4 separate regions of the Homo sapiens genome follow, and regions 2, 3 and 4 are each linked to region 1. Evidence: promoter capture Hi-C in 16 types of primary human blood cells and fetal thymus (Javierre and others, 2016). All regions are on one chromosome and are shown on one strand. Each heading gives the region's core, a stretch centred on a gene start or on the middle of the fragment in contact. The rest is flanking DNA. Distances are from core to core; before and after follow the strand shown. Region 1 has its middle 18 kb from the start of CXCR3. Region 2 holds the start of MED12 (mediator complex subunit 12). Region 3 holds the start of SNX12 (sorting nexin 12). Region 4 holds the start of FOXO4 (forkhead box O4).

Region 1 (3,910 bases), core at 774-3,273:
AGGACAATGTCCTGCAGATGAAGGCAGGTTGAGGCAGAATTAAGCATGAAGTTAGTTTAAAGACTGGGAAAGAAATAGAGAGGATTTAATATGTATAAACAAGTTCCTAAATTAGGAACTTAATTTTTTTTCATCTATTTTTCTGTGCCACATTTAACTAACATGGTTCTTTGGAGGTTATTAGAGTGCAGCACTTTCACTTCGTCTCTCAGTAACTACACAACAGTCTCTGAGGGTAGCTATTATTATTTTGCTCATTTTACTGAGGAAGAAACAGCCTTAAAGACTGTGATCTGTCCATGATCATACAGGAAGTGACAGATACAGGCATGCAGTCCAGATATCGTGTCTTTTGTTGATCCAGCTGAGTGAAAGCAGGACTTACTGCCTGCGCCACCCCTCTGGTGTTGAAGTCATCTCTAAGTCCAGTCCCTTAGCCTGAGGTAACTGAGACCAGAAGAAAGTGATCTGGGAGAATGAGGAGCCGAGCCCCAGGGCCTGAAACCAAGTCCTTGGAGAGAATCACTGAGAATCTTACAAGACGGTGGGAATATAGACCTACCAGGGATAGCCTGTATCTTCAAAGAATTCTTTAAGTGGAGGAAAAAGAATTGTTTTAAAAATTACAATCCAGAAGGCTGAGGTGGGAGGATCACTGGAGCCTGGGAGGCAGAGGTTGCAATGAGCCGAGATCATGCCATTGCACTCCAGCTTAGGCGACAGAGCAAGACCCTGTCTCAAAAAAAAAAAAAAAAAAAAATTAAAATCCGGTATCCAAAATTCTATTCTACGCTGGTGCAGACTGTCCTGTGGGAGCCCAAAAAGAAGCAGTCACTACTGCATTGGAGGTTTGAGGCCAGCTTCTGAAAGGAAGAGATTCCCAATGGATAAGGCAACTGAGTTAGGACAGAGCACATGGGAACACATGCACAGAGGCATGGAGAGGAGCCTGTTGACTCATTTGGTGAACAAACTTGGCAGTATGCTTAGTAAGTGGGACTCTTGTTAAAGAGCCAGGCCACTGGGGCCTTGTGTGTCAGGCTCAGGGCATCGACCTATATACACAGGGCCATGGGGAAGAGCACTGTCGAGTTTTGAACAGGGAAATGATATGATTAGATTTGTATCCTGAGCAATCTTTCCATATCAAGGCAAGACTGGGCACAGGGGAATCAGGTAAGAGGGGCTGTCACAGCGGGCCAGTAGAGAGATGCCAGCTTGAGCCTCGGGAGGAAGGGCAGAGAGGAGGGAACCTATTTAAGAACATACGCTTCTGAGCACTTGTGCTGGTAGGGTTGCTGAATCATCGCAGATGCACCTGTTGCCTAGATACTACCCAGCTGCTCTCCAAAAAGGCTGCACCAATTTACGTAGGAAATGTTCTTTAGAGCACCCCAGCTATTTTTCATTCTTTCTCAGTCTTCCCATAATGCTATTGCATATTAACTGCCCTGTGAAGGAGAATCATATTCTCTGATGTGGATAAAGAAAATCAAAAGCTTCATGTTAAACTTGTGATTCCCCGTGTACTATGCATGGCTCCCCCCTGCTTTCTCTTCTACTATGCCCAGGCTCCTCAGTACATTGAAAGGTGTATCTTTCTTTATTGTTAGTCATCCCAGACTATAAATCTAGGTATACAAGAAACATTGCCTCTCTTTATTGTTTTTCTATATCAATCTAATTTCAATTCTGCACTCCGTCTTGGCAGAGTCTGGGAAATTCACCCTGAGTCATCCTCACATTTCCTGCTTCCCTGATGTCAAGAAGAGGTCTTGGGACCTTTCACGGTATCAGACATCTAGGGGCAGAGGGGTAGAGGGTCTTGTTGTCTGTAAGTTTCTGCTAAGCCATTCATTCTACCCTGTTCATTGCTGCTTCTGTGGCTGAGGAAATCTGCCAGGCAGCTGGAAGGCCTGCAGTTTCCGGTGCATCTCCCTGCACACACCAAGGGACCACTCCTCTTTGGGGAATTACCAGCTCCTCAGAGTGTTACTAGGAAGCAGGGCCCGGGGACCCACAGCTCTCTCTCTCCTCCCTCTTCTCCTTCTACCCAGGCTGTATACCTCTCCTGAGGCAATAAAGCACATAGCTGGCTTCATTTTGATAAGGTGTGGGGAGAAAGAGGGAAACACAAGGAGGGAAGATACAGGCTTCAGCCTATGGCACCTAAAGGGATAAACTGATTGTCTACTAAAAATACAAAAAAATTAGCCGGATGTGGTGGCACGTGCCTGTAGTCCCAGTTACTTGGGAGGCTGAGGCAGGAGAATCGCTTGAAGCCAGGGAGGCAGAGGTTGCAGTGAGCCCAAATTGCACCACTGCACTCCAGCTTGGGTGACAGAGCGAGACTCTGTCTTGGAAAAAATAATAATAATAAAATAAAATAAAAAGCCAACATCCAATCTAATGTTAAAATACTTAGGCCGGGCACAGAGGCTCATGCATGTAGTCCCAGCACTTTGGGAGGCCAAGGTGGGAGGATCGAGACCAGCCTGGGCAACATAGTGAAACCCGGTCTCCACAAAAAGAAAAAACCAAGCTTAAAATACTTAAGTGGGGGGTGTAGCCCAACATCATGTTTTCACAGGAAATCTCCCAGGGGACATTGCCACTTTTCCTCCTAGGATAACGACCCTTTTCTTCCTAGGCCTCTGTGGTAGGCAGAATAATTCCCCAACTACCAAAGATATCTACATCCACATCCTAACCCAGAACCTGTGTGTGTGTGAGATTACATGTCGAAGGGGAATGAAGATTGCAGATAAAATTAAGGTTGCCAATCAGCACACTTGTGACAGGGATATTCTCTTGGATTATCCAGGTAGGCCCAGTGTAATCTCAGCATCCCTATAAGTAGAAGAGGGAGGCAGAATGAACGAACCAGACAGATGGCAGTGTGAGAAGGACTTGGCCTGACGTTACCAGGTTTTAAGATGGGGGAAGGGGCCATGGGCCAAGGCATCCAGAAGTTGGAAAACGCAAGGAAATAGACTCTTCCCTAGAGCCTCTAGAAGAAACACCAAGCCTGCCAACACTTTGATTTTAGTCCAGTGAGACGCATCTCAGGCTTTTTTTTTTTTTTTTTTTGAGTCAGATTTTCACTCTTGTCACCCAGGCTAGAGTGCAATGGCAGGATCTTGGCTCACTGCAACCTCCGCGTCCTGGGTTCAAGCAATTCTCCTGCCTCAGCCTCCCCAGTAACTGGGACTACAGGTGCATGCCACCACGCCTGGCTAATTTTTTATTTTTATTTTTAGTAGAGACTAAAAATATTATTTGTTTCACCATGTTGGCCAGGCTGGTCTCGAACTTCTGACCTCAGGTGATCCGCCCGCCTCAGCCTCCCAAAGTGCTGGGATTACAGGCTTGAGCCACTGCACCCAGCCCGCATCTCAGACTTCTGACTTCTAGAACTATAAGGTAATAAATTTGTATTGTTTGAAGCCACTAAATTTGTCATAATTTTTTATAGCAGCAGTAGGAAATAAATACAAGCTACAAAAGGAAATCATGGTTTTTAATTTCTTCTTATGATTTTCAGTGTAACTGTTTCCATTCTGGGGCTTGAAGGTAGCCCTGAGCATGGCTGGTATCCTGTTTTCTCCCACACCTTAGGGTGGTGGAGGATGGGGTTAGGACACATGGTCTGCCTCTGGCCCTGGCCTCGTGGGCTTGTAGAAATCCATGTCTCCCCTTTCCCTCTAAGCCATGTAAAAGCCAAGTCTTGACTAGAGATGAGTGTTGACAGCTGCTGGATCTACAAATAGGTCCTCCTTCCAGGCCTGTGGCGGGATTGCACGTCCCAGGGAATCTCTTTAGAGTTAGGTGTGGACATGTGGCTTGCCTTTGCCAATGAAGCTTTAAGACACAGTGTACAATTCATCTCGTTCTCATCCCACTGCTGCAG
Region 2 (4,079 bases), core at 342-2,841, 520 kb after region 1:
GTTAGGAGTTACTCACCCATGAAAGGGTCAACATGTCTCTTCTTAACCTTGGTCTCAGAGATTGCTGCATAGTAGGCACAGGTCATCTTAATGAGCCAGGCAGCCCGCATCACAGGCACTGTGTATTTGGCTAAGTACCCAAACACCTCTTCCTTCTTACTGAAAATGGGGACCTGGATGGACATTGCAAATAGTGAGGTCTCTATTATCCCCATGAGCTGACACCCATGTAGCTTAATATGGGAATAGGAGGGTACTTGGTACCCCATGCTCCCTCCTTGGCCTGAAGGACAGGAAACAGTACCTTACCTTTTTGGCTAGTTGCGTGAGTGGCTTGGTGCCAGCCAAGTCAGTGAACCAAGTGTTAATGGCACTCTGGGATCGTGCAGTCACCAGCCAGAAGTTATCCTTCTGGTTCACTTGGGGCTTCCTGCGACCAGTGTCAGGAAGGGTATTACAACGTAATTTCTCTGCAATAATGCTGCTGAAGTTGGAACTGATCTGAGGGAAGAAAAGTGTACCTCAGGGTGGGAAGAAGGGGCAGACAGGTGGTCCTGCCTTTTGCTGGGCAAATGCCAATGAGATAGTATTAGGTCATGAAGGCAAACTCAGCCACTTAGGTTGTCCCTATAAGTCTTCCCAACCCAGGGCCTTTGCTCCTTCTTAGATTCTTCCAGCCTTTTCCTTCAGCCTGGCAGAGTTGTCTCACCTTGGCAGGATTGAAGCTGACGTTCTTGGCACTGCCATGCTCATCCCCAGAGACAGCAGGCTGGTTATTGAAACCTTGTTTTACATTCAAGGCCGTCAGTTCATCCTGAGGCAGGAAAGCGGCGTTTAGTTGTTTTTTCCTTAGGGGAAGGGGGAAGGGGTGGGAGAGTAGGGCAGGAGAAAAGAAGGAACAAGGTGAAAGGGCAGGAGGAGGGTTCCGTGTAGAACAGATCGTTACTTAAAGCTGGGCCCTTACGTTCACTTGGACCCCACCCTCACTCCCATGGTCACTAGGATTCCCAGCCACCCAGCGCGCCCTCAAACATCACTCTTCTCTTGCGAACAGCCGAGCAGCCGTACCCCACCAAGCTGTCTCAGACAACTTTCTGAGGTGTGTGTGGAGGAGGGCGCCTCTGGTGCGGCCCCTACACCACCCCCTATTCATACCTTGGAACCCCCCACCGCCCCCCGTCCTGCCCTCCCACGCCAGCCCACTTTACTCTTCCCCCTTTCGGGACTTTTGCTCTCACCGAACCGCCCCGCCCCCCATTCCCAGCCGTCAGTGCCTCCTCCTAGGCTGACCGCGTGCCCCCGGCCCCTCCAGAGCCCCGATTTTCGAACGCACCTCCTTCTGTTTGGGGTCCTGAGGGTAAACATCGGGAGGCCCCAGCCGCGGCCGCTTCAGGGGCCGGTGTTCGTAGCTCAAGATCCCGAAGGCCGCCATCTTGCCCAGCCCGTAGCGCCGGAGGCACCAGCAGGGCCAGGCTGACTGGGGGAACGGGAAGGGGGAGAGGGAGCCGAAAAGGGGGGCGGTGGTTGAGAGGACGGCGGCCGAGAGACAACAAGGGGGCACGTTAGAAACTCTCGACCATTGCCGGAAACTACCGAGGGAAGCCGAGGTACGCCGGGAACCATCGGACAATACCGACTGCAGAGGAGGTGGGGCCTGGCCCGGTGGGGGCGGAGCTCTGTGCCCCGGGAGTTTTTCGGCGGTGGCGGCAGCAAGTCGATTTCACTCAGCAAAAATCTATGAAACGTTCCGGAGGCGCAGAATGAGCTGGGGATGCAAACCAGGGAAGAAGGAGGCCTCTGTGGTGCTGAGTTCTGACTGGACTTCGGTTCCCATAGCCTAGCTCGGTTTTGGCCTAGAAAAGTCTTCAATAATATTTGCATTGGTTAGGAACTCCGTCTATTACAGATCAGTTCGTTTCTTAGTTCCGGCATCTGAAAAATAGGTGCGCTAACACCTCCTTCAAGGGGCTATTGTGAACATTAGAAACTATGTATGCATGAGAAAGAACCTATTAAACCCTGAAAGGCTGGCTCTAATCCCTCAAGGTCTACCATCGAGTTGTCTAACCTTTTCTTGTTTGTTTTTCTGCCCAAGGGTACCGCATACTAACGTTTTTGATTCACAAACCCTTAAAGGTGCTGATGAAAGCTATGGACCTTCTTCCCAGAAATAATAATAATAATAATAATAATATGCATATATTGACATGCAAAATGTTGCTTTAGATTCTTAGATCCCCTGAAGTTCATCCATGTATCCCCTAAGGGTCCATGAACTCCAGGTTAAGAACCCTTGGTCTAGCTAAAGAGGCACCTATTGTGTCAGATGCTTTTCAGACACTATCTCCTTTAATCTGCTCACAGCCTCATGAGTTAGGGATTATTATTGGCTCGATTTTGCGGATGGAGGAAGCTGGTTTTCAAAGTGTGAAAATTCACTTATCCAATATTATACAGCTACTGAGTAACAGAGCTGGCACTAAGATTCTGAATTCCAGAGCCAATATCCTATTGTCGTATTGCTATTTGTTTATTTTGAGGCAGGTTCTCCCTCTGTCGCCTAGGCTGGAGTGCAGTGGCGCTATCACGGCTCACTGCAGCATCAACCTTCTGGACTCCAGCGATCCTCCCGCCTCAGCCTCCCAGTAGCCTGGACTACAGGCGTGCGCCACTGTGCCGGCCTTGTATTGCCTTTTAGAGAAAAGACAGCCAGTGTGCTGTAACAAAAGTAACAAATAACAATAAACAAAAATAACACCAGTAACAAAAATAACAAAATGCTATTGAATCACAATGGAAAGAAGAAGTAATTCAAGGCGGGGAGTGGTGGCTCACGTCCGTAATCCCAGCACTTTGGGAGGCCAAGGCAGGGAATCACCTGAGGTCAGGAGTTCAAGACCAGCCTGGCCAACGTGGTGAAATCCCATCTCTACTAAAAATACAAAAATTAGCTTGTGTGGTGGCAGGCGCCTGTAATGCCAGCTGCTCAGGAGGCTGAGGTAACATTTGAACTAACTCTGAAGGATATTTTTATTTTATTTTATTTTTTATTTTATTTATTGTTTTGAGACGGAGTCTCACTCTTGTTGCCCAGGCTGGAGTGCAGTGGCGTGATCTCGGTTCACTGCAACCTCCGCCTCCCAGGTTCAAGTGATTCTCTTGCCTCAGCCTCCCCAGTAGCTGGGATTACAGGCTTGCGCCATCATGCCTAGCTAATTTCTGTATTTTTAGTAGAGACGGGGTTTCTCCATGTTGGCCAGGCTGGTGTCAAACTCGTGACCTCAAGTGATCCGCCCACCTCGGCCTCCCAAAGTGCTGGGATTACAGGCGTGAGCCACCACGCTCAGCCTGAACGATATTTTATTTATTTATTTATTTATTTATTTATTTATTTATTTATTTTGAGACTGAGTTTCGCTCTTGTTGCCCAGGCTGGAGTGCAATGGCGCAATCTCGGCTTACTGCAACCTCTGCCTCCCTGGTTCAAGCGATTCTCCTGCCTCAGCCTCCCGAGTAGCTGGGATTACAGGCATGCACCACCATGCCCAGCTAAATATTTTTTTGTTGTTGTATTTTTAGTAGAGACGGGGTTTCTCTATGTTGGTCAGGCTGGTCTCGAACTCCCGACCTCAGGTGATCCACCTGCCTCCACCTCTCAAAGTGTTGGGATTACAGGCGTGAGCCACCAACCTGAAGGATATTTTTAAAAAGATAATTTTTCTTTTCTTTCTTTTTTTTTCTTTTTTTTTTTTTTTTGACAAGGTCTCACTCAGTGGCCCAGGCTAGACTGCAGTGGTGCAATCTCACTTCACTGCAACCTCTACCTCCTGGGCTCAAGCAAACCTCCCACCTCAGCCTCCCAAGTATCTAGGATCACAGGCGCTGGCCACCACACCCGGTTAATTTTTGCTTTTTTTTTTTTTTTTTTTTTTTGGTGGAGACAGGGTTTTGCTATGTTGCCCAGGCTGGACTTAAACTCCTGGTCTCTAGCGATCCACCCACCTCAGCCTCTGAAAGTGCTGGGATTACAGGCATGAGCCACAGCACCCAGCATAAAAGAATTTTTTAGAGCAGTTTTA
Region 3 (4,237 bases), core at 392-2,891, 570 kb after region 1:
CTCTCTTTTCTTTTCCTTTTCTTTCTTTCTTTTTTTGATGGAGTCTTGCTCTGTTGCCCAGGATGGAGTGCAGTGGCATGATCTCAGCTCACTGCAACCTCTGCCTCCCGGGTTCAAGCGATTCTCCTGCCTCAGCCTCCTGAGTAGCTGGGATTACAGGCGTGTGCCACCATGCCCAGCTAATTTTTGTATTTTTAATAGAGACAGGGTTTCACCATGTTGGCCAGGCTGATCTCGAACTCTTGACCTCAAGTGATCTGCCTGCCTCGGCCTCCCAAAGTGCTGGGATTACAGGTGTGAGCCACCGCGCCCGGCCTGCATATGCTGTTTCTTATTCCAGAAATTACCTTTCCCTATTTCCACTCCTATTTGTCCTTTATGTCTTTTCATGTCTGTTAAACTCAGATGTTTCCTCCTCCAGGGGAACCTCCCCTAATTTTTCCAGTTATACATTTCCTATGTGCTGCTTTGAACATTTACTTATTTTGTATTTGTCGCATTATATTAGTTTTGTTTACTTGTCTCCCTTGCTAGAATGTTAACTCCTTGAGGGCAGGGACTCTTATTTAACTCCAGGATTTTAGTGTTTAGCATGGTGCTTGGCACGTATTTGCTTAGTGGATATTGGTTAAATTGAATTAAACAGCAATTGTGAAATTGTAGGGCCTCATACTCTGTTGAAAGAATTTCAGGCATCAGTGATATGGGAAATATTTTTTGAGTAGAGGAGGGCAGGGGAAAGGTGGAGAAAGGATGACCTGAAATCATCACCCAGTCTACCCTTTAATGTGGAGCATATGTAAATTAGTCATATAAATATTAATATTTCTATAGATATTCTCATGTAAACATTTATTCTATCTCCATTATGGGTTGCAAGCAACCTCAGAGCAGTGCCAAGTATGGAGTTCTGCGGAGTAGAAATAGAAGGTATGAAATAAGTACCCTCAATTTGCTGATAAATGTAAGATTGAGTACACCTGGAGTGTGGCAACAAGGAGTAAGATATGCCCAATTTTCCTGAAAAGTAAGAGAGAAATGTCTTTCTTTACCCCATCCTAGTTGCTTGCTGCTTTCCTGGCGCCATACGTAGTGCTGAGTGCGCCATTGTGTGTGGCGTGAACTGAAACCATCAGTGGCACAGGTGGGACGGCTACGTTATAGGTTCTCAGTACTATTGTTGGAACCCCACCCTCCATAGACCACCCTTCTATTTTCGCGGAAAACCAGGACTTATTCAGGTCACTGGGCTTCGGCCTATCACTGTAGGAGCCTGGCTCACGGGGCAGTGCCCACTGTTGATTGATACACGGTACGAGACAATTTCTTGGGTTGAGGAGCCGCGATTGGCGGAGCCAGCCTGTGCTGCTAGGCAGGGTATTGGGTACTGCGTATTGGGGATGCAGGTTCCCGGGTGGCCACAAACATCACCCGGAAGCCTGAATATGGCCTCCACTCTACAGGGCGCGCAGCAGTCAGCACGGCCGCTATTCAGAGCCCGGGGCCCAGGCCCGTGCGGCGTGCGCGTGCGTGCGTGGGCGCGCGTGCGCGCCGCCGCCGCCTGTGGGTTGGCTAGTTATTTTGCAAGCGGGAGGGGCCGTGCGCGCTCCTGCCTCAGGCCTCTGTCCCCCACCCCCTTTCCCCGGTCCCAGGCTCTCCTTCGGAAAGATGTCGGACACGGCAGTAGCTGATACCCGGCGCCTTAACTCGAAGCCGCAGGACCTGACCGACGCTTACGGGCCGCCAAGTAACTTCCTGGAGATCGACATCTTTAATCCTCAGACGGTGGGCGTGGGACGCGCGCGCTTCACCACCTATGAGGTTCGCATGCGGGTGAGTCACGGGGTGAGGGAGACAGCTGAGGGAGGACCGGGCGGCGCGAGCGGGAGGGGGGAGGGAGGCTACCGCGGGGGCAACTAACGGCGGGGAAGACGCCTTAGGGGTCATTTGGGGGTTAGGGGTATAATAGGCTTGGAACGAGGTCTGCCGATTCAGTTGTGGCCGGAGGATGCAGAAAACTCCTGAGGGAGACATCGGACGGGGATGCAGGAAAGCTACCCATGAGGAAGTGAAGCATGGCTGGATAGGGTGGGGTGGATGGAAAAAGATTAGAGTGAGGAATTCAAGGAGATAGGAATCACGGCTGTAGCGACTGAAGGAAGGGAGGGAGGATGGAAGAGGGCTGGGGGATGGAAAGCCAAGGCGATATATCGCTGAGCTCCATAACTAAACTAGGTTGTGAGAAGTCTGAAGAGGGAGGGCAGGAAGGCCGGCTGCTTTCTAATGAGGTCTCCCTGGGATAATGGAGTAAAGCAAAGCCTTGAATTAAAGGGAAGGTAGATTCCAGAAAAGGCAGACAGTAGGCTTGTGGGAGCAGAAATAAGAAAGGGAGTCTCCTTGAGACCGAGCGCTTTCCTAACTTGTGTCGGATCAGCATCTGAAGGAGAGAAATGTTTTATGCTTAAGTTTTCGCAGATACTACGTGCTGTCTCGCCTTGAAACCTGGCCTGGCCCTGGGATTGGTGCCTTGTCAGTCACTGCTTTCATTCTATGTGGATCCTTTAGATTTGAAGTATCCAGAATGTTTATTTCAGTATTTATTGACTCTCGTTTAGGTACTTTGTATATGAATGGCTTTTTGCCCTTTCTGTCCTAGATTACCCTTTTGGATTCTGACCCTGGTCTGTAGTTACTTTAATACATGACATTTCAGAATTGCCCAGGAGTGGCTTCTTCCAGCATGCATGATAGAGGACTTTACTCTCTAGTGCTTAGCCCATAATGCAAGGATGGAATGTGCAGATAGAGTACTTGGTTTGCAGGATCTTTTGCCCACTTGAAGTGGTTATAGGCAAAACAGTTTGAGAATCATTTTCTAGTTTTCCTTATGTTTTCTTCTCAGACTAAAAGGCCAGAATATTCTCTGTGGACAGCATCCTGCTCAAACAGCATTGAAGAACTAAAAGAGTGTATGTGCTTTCATTGTTGAAGGAGTGAATTGAATGAGAAATTGTGGTCTCCTACTTGGGCTTTGAAATCTTATTGAGAAATTATGATTTCCAGATTCCAAGTTTGGCAAAGTCCAAACTGAAGAAAGAAAAGTGAATAGCAAAACATGAGAAACACTTGTCTATATAAGAACTATGTGAAATCATGTCTTTGGGGGAGAATGGAATTTAGGTCCTTCAGAATATGATAAAAGCAGGAAATTGTCAGTGCTGGAGAACTTAGTTACCTGAGGGAGCTTGGGCATGACTAGTACAGCATAAGGGCTGTCTGCTGTGGGGTTTTGGAGACATTCAATGCATTACCCAAGAGTCTTAGGGATTCTGAATGAAATCGCTCTTTACTCAGGGTATTCTTTTTTTTTTTTTTTTTTTTTTAAGAGATGGAGTCTCGTTCTATTGCCCAGGCTGCCGTGCAATGGTGCAATCTCGGCTCGCTGCAACCTCCGCCTCCTGGGTTCAAGCAATTCTCCTGCCTCATCCTCCCGAGTAGCTGGGATTACAGGCACATGCCACCATGCCTGGCTAATTTTTGTATTTTTAATAGAGACGGGGTTTCGCCATGTTGGCCAGGCTGGTCTTGAACTGCTGACCGCAAGTGATCCTCCTGCCTCGGCCTCCCAAAGGGCTGGGATTAGAGGCGTGAGCCACCACGCCTGGCCCTACTCCAGGTATTCTAATAGCAACAGGGACTGTTCATCTAGTGCCTACTGTGTACCAGGCACTGAACTAGGTTTTAATTTGTGTTAATCCTTACAGAACTTCGTTTTACACATGGGAAACTGAGGAGGAATGCAGTTTAAGTAACTTGCCCAAGTACACGTAACTATAACTGACAGGGCTGGAATTTGAACACAAATATGTCTGACTCCATATTCTTTCTGCTACACTTCTGTCTCCTTGACAACACTTAGTAGCAAAACTTTAGCATGCAAAATTTTTCTACTCACTAAACTTTTAATCGGTCCCTTCCACAATTTTTTTTTTTTTCGAGACAGAGTCTCGCTCTGTCACCCAGGCTGGAGTGCAGTGGCATGATCTCAGCTCACTGCAACCTATGCCTCCCAGGTTCAGGCGATTCTCCTGCCTCAGCCTCTGGAGTAGCTGGGACTACAGGCATAAGGCATGGTGCCACCACACCTGGCTAATTTTTTTTTTTTTTTTTGAGATAGAGTTTTGCTCTTGTAGCCCAGGCTGGAGTGCAGTGGCATGATCTCGGCTCACTGCAACCT
Region 4 (4,030 bases), core at 11-2,510, 540 kb after region 1:
GGATCTCTGGGCTTCCCAAAGGGGGTGGGGGTGGGAGGTAGTAAAAGGGGCCCCAGAGTAGAAGTAAGGGAGGCTAGGGGGTCCAGGGGGTAGATGGTGTTGGGAAGAAGGTAAGAGGGTCATAATTACCTTCCATCCTGCTGAGCTGTTGCTGTCACCCTTGTCCTTGAAGTAGGGTACAGTACGGACCATCCACTCGTAGATCTGGGCAAGTGTCAGTCGCTTCTCCGGGGCGCTTTCAATGGCCTGGCTGATGAGTTCTGCATATGACTGATTTCCCCAGGCATTCCGGCGGGAGCCTCCCTTCCGAGGACCTGTTACAGCCCCCAGGATTCCGGGCTGGGGGCCCCCGGCCGGCTCTGGGAGCCGAGAGGGCAACAGGATCGGCTCTGAGCGCCCCTCCGTGTGTACCTTTTCCCCCAGATCTGGCTCCACCTCGGGCGGCTCGGACGGCTGGTTAGCGATCTCTGGTCGGGGAAGGGGCCAGGTGCAGGAGCGGGGACGGCTCTGGGGTTCGAAGTCGGGATCTAGGTCTATGATCGCGGCAGCCTCTGTGGCTGAATTCTCATTCCCCGGATCCATACGTGGAGTTGGACCTCCCCGGCTCAGCGTTCAGTGAAGCCTGCCACAGTCCCTCACGATGCCTCCCCTCAGGGGGGAAGCATCGAGGGCCAGGAGGCACATTCCTGCCAGTCTTCAGAAAGTCGCGAACTTCCCCCTAGTCCCAGGACGCTAGTCCCTAAGCTGTCCCTTCACACAGTTCTCCGATCCCCTTCCCGACTACAGCCTGTAGCCTCAAAGCTCTTTCTGAGATGCCACCTGTAACCTCTGCCGAGCGAAGACACTTTTTCTGCAACCTCTCACTCAGCTTCCTGCTCTTTTAAACCTGAGGCACTGTATCCCCTCATATATTGCGCTCCCATCACCGAACGTCTCCTTAGCCGCAGTTCCCTCCCCCTTTTAAGTTGCTGCCCCCCGGACACTCCTCCCAAATTTCCTCCACCCGGATTGCTGCCCTCCCCCACGCCCCGCTCCCCCGCGTCACTTGCCCCTCCCCTGACTCCCCCTTCCCCCGCCTCTTCCCTTCTCGCCACTCTTACTAGGGTCCGGGTCCCCGCGGCTGCGGCCTCCCTTATTCCCGCACCGATTCCCCTATCAACCCCCCCCACCCCCCGCCCCCCGGGTTTCCCTTTTGTTTTGCTCCAAGCAGCAGCCCCCTCCTGACGTCTCTGTTTACCACTCGCCGGGGCAGCCATCTGCGCACGCGCCTCGAAAGCCAGTCGGGAAACCGAGTTCTGCAGTCGTGCCACCCTGGTCACTCTTGAGGACTACATCTCCCGTCCTGCTTCGCGGCCAGGAGCCCGATACGGCGGCAGGAGAGCGGCGTGGCAGGATATAACGAGGTGGAACTTTAATTATTAGAAGTCGTCGCGGACTCTTTCTTTTCTTAAGAATCGTTTTTCGCCCTTTCCCCCTTTCCATTGTCTCCCTTGTGATTCAGAGTCGTGTAGGTGACCAGATTGAGAGGTGCTAGCCCTTTCCCTCCTTCATTTAGGAGACGGCAAAAGGGAAAAAATTATTCTCTTAAAGATGCAGGAGACCAAGAAGCAAGAAGCAAGGAACTGACTAGAAAATAGGATGTATGCACGTTGGAGAGTTGGGTGGGGGGCTTGTGTAACATAAACAAATGGTTAGCCCACGGTGGTGTTCCTCCTCACCCCCTTCCTCCTCCCTCCACCCGCCTTCATCCCCCCATATGCAGTTCCCACTGACAGTGAGGTCTCACTTACCAATCAGTTTCCTCCACTGGCTCTTCTGGCTTTCCCTTCAACACCGATATTCTCCAGGTTCACATCTCCAACGGCTTCACTTCTCATTCAACAGGTCCAAACTCATTATCTGTTCCTGCACCCGCACCCCTATCCTCTGGCTACCCTTATCTCTGAATTTGACTTATGGTAGTCCTGATCTACCCAGTCTCCCAAGCTCCAAGCAGCAGCTTAGAGGTAATTACCCATTACTTCTTCATCTCCGTAACTTTCTACATCCAAATCCCAGTTCAAGACCTATTTATAACTGCATTTAAATTGTAGGATCAGCCGGGTGCAGTGGCTGACGCCTGTAATATCAGCACTTTGGGAGGTCGAGGCAGGCGGATCACTTGAGGTCAGGAGTTTGAGACCAGCCTGGCCAACATGGTGAAACCCATCTCTGCTAAAAATAGAAAAATTAGCCTGGTGTGGGGCACGCACCTGTAGTCCCAGCTACTTGGGAGGCTGAGGTGGGAGAGTCGCTTGAACCCAAGAGGTGGAGGTTGCAGTGAGCCAAGATCATGCCACTGTGCTCCAGCCTGGGTGACAGAATAACACCCTGTCAAAAAAAAAAAAAGGTGCAGTATCATCTTAATTGGATCTCCTTCCATCAGTCTTTACCTCACTACAGTTTATATTCAGAGCTGCCAGCAAGGTTACCGTTCTAAGAAACATGTCTGGTAATTATGGCTAAAATTTATGGAGCCCTTATTATGTGCCAGTCTCTGTGCAAATTGCTTTACGAACATTAGTTCATTTACTCCTCAATCATTTACTCCTCAATTCAACCCCATGAGGTAGGTACCACTATTATCCGCATTTTATAGATGAAGACACTAACAATGCTCAGAGATTGACTTGCCCAACGAGGCAGAACTGGGATTATATAACTTACATGCGATCGTATAATTTCTTTCTTTCTTTCCTTCCTTCTTTCTTTCTTTCCTTCCTTCCTTCCTTCTTTCTTTCTCCTTCCTTCTTTCTTTCTTTCTTTCTTTCTTTCTTTCTTTCTTTCTTTTTCTTTCTTTCTTTCTTTCTTTCTTTCTCCTTCCTTCCTTCCTTCCTTCCTTCCTTCCTTCCTTCCTTCCTTCCTTCCTTCTTTCCTTCTTTTTTGAGACAGGGTCTTGCTCTGTCACTCAGACTGGAATGCAGTGGTGTGATCTTGGCTCACTGCAGCCTTGACCTGCTGCACTCAAGCAATCCTCCCATCTCAGCCTCGGGAGTAGCTGGGACTACAGGCATGTGCCACCACGCCCAGCTAATTTTTGTATTTTCTGTAGAGACGGGGTTTCACCGTGTTGCTCAGGCTGGTCTGGAACTCCTGACTTCAAGTGATCCACCTGCCTTGGCCTCTGAAAGTGCTGGGATTACAGGCATGAGCCACCGCACCTGGCTATAAATTTTGTTTTTTTGATCATGTAATTTCCCTGGTTAAATCTTCCTCTGATTTTCCCCATTGCCTGTGTGATAAAGTTCAAATTCCCTCGCAAGGCATGCCAGGCTCCTCAGATTCAGGCCACTTCACACCTTTCCTGCACACTAAGTTACAAGCAGAGTTTCACACTATTTCCTGGAAATACCATGCCCTTTTATACCTTTCTCTCTGCATCCTGGGATATCATCCCTCTTGTCATTCCTCTCCACGTCTCTTATTTTGGAAAACTCCTATTCAGCCTTCCCTGTCTCCCTTAGGTGTGATTAGTTCTCCTTTTTTTTCTGCATTCCTAAGCACTTTGTGCAGTCTTATGTTATATAGCACAAACTATATTGTATTGTAATTATTTGTTTACTTATCTGTCTCTCCCAGTAAACTGTGAGCTCTTATTTATTTTTTTTTTAGACAGGGTCTCGCTCTGTCACCCAGGCTGGAGTGCAATGGCACAATCTCGGCTCACTGCAACCTCCACCTCCCAGGTTCAGACGATTCTCCTGCCTCAGCCTCCCGAGTAGCTGGGATTACAGGTGCCTGCCACCATTCCCAGCTAATATTTGTATTTTTAGTAGAGATGGGTTTTCACCATGTTGGTCAGGCTGGTCTTGAACTCCTGGCCTCTGGTGATCCACCCGCCTTGGCCTCCCAAAGTGTTGGGATTACAGGTGTGAGCCACAGTGCTCGGCAAATATCATTTATTAAATGAAGTATCACAAATAGCATTTGGACATTTAACAACTTTTAAATAAACATGTCCTATGCATTTTTTGCCTGGCCCTGTTCCAAC

Evidence for each region. Contacts are between HindIII fragments. The CHiCAGO score rates a contact against its expected background, and 5 or more counts as called.
Region 2: the fragment with the promoter of MED12 here is called in contact with a fragment that was not itself captured in region 1 in 3 of 17 cell types (naive CD8 T cells, total B cells and non-activated CD4 T cells); the score reaches 5.8 in naive CD8 T cells.
Region 3: the fragment with the promoter of SNX12 here is called in contact with a fragment that was not itself captured in region 1 in 1 of 17 cell types (total B cells); the score reaches 7.1 in total B cells.
Region 4: the fragment with the promoter of FOXO4 here is called in contact with a fragment that was not itself captured in region 1 in 1 of 17 cell types (fetal thymus); the score reaches 6.3 in fetal thymus.

Annotation. Positions count from the first base shown.
Region 1 is chrX:71,634,479-71,638,388 of GRCh38, reverse strand. No RefSeq gene overlaps it. Among named protein-coding and RNA genes, the nearest start is that of CXCR3, 18 kb to the right of the region's middle. The HindIII fragment of the contact is 1,043 bases long and covers 1,502-2,544 here.
Region 2 is chrX:71,116,108-71,120,186 of GRCh38, reverse strand. It overlaps MED12 (mediator complex subunit 12), which reads right to left and starts at 1,591. Exons shown (of 45, transcript NM_005120.3): 1 at 1,334-1,591; 2 at 710-814; 3 at 310-501; 4 at 17-173. The coding sequence starts at 1,432. The HindIII fragment of the contact is 19,646 bases long and covers 1-4,079 here.
Region 3 is chrX:71,065,738-71,069,974 of GRCh38, reverse strand. SNX12 (sorting nexin 12) reads left to right here and starts at 1,641. Exons shown (of 4, transcript NM_013346.4): 1 at 1,641-1,833. The coding sequence starts at 1,669. RefSeq lists silencers at 1,426-1,645, 1,485-1,678. The HindIII fragment of the contact is 9,631 bases long and covers 1-4,237 here.
Region 4 is chrX:71,093,081-71,097,110 of GRCh38, reverse strand. It overlaps FOXO4 (forkhead box O4), which reads right to left and starts at 1,260. Exons shown (of 3, transcript NM_005938.4): 1 at 130-1,260. The coding sequence starts at 582. The HindIII fragment of the contact is 17,633 bases long and covers 1-4,030 here.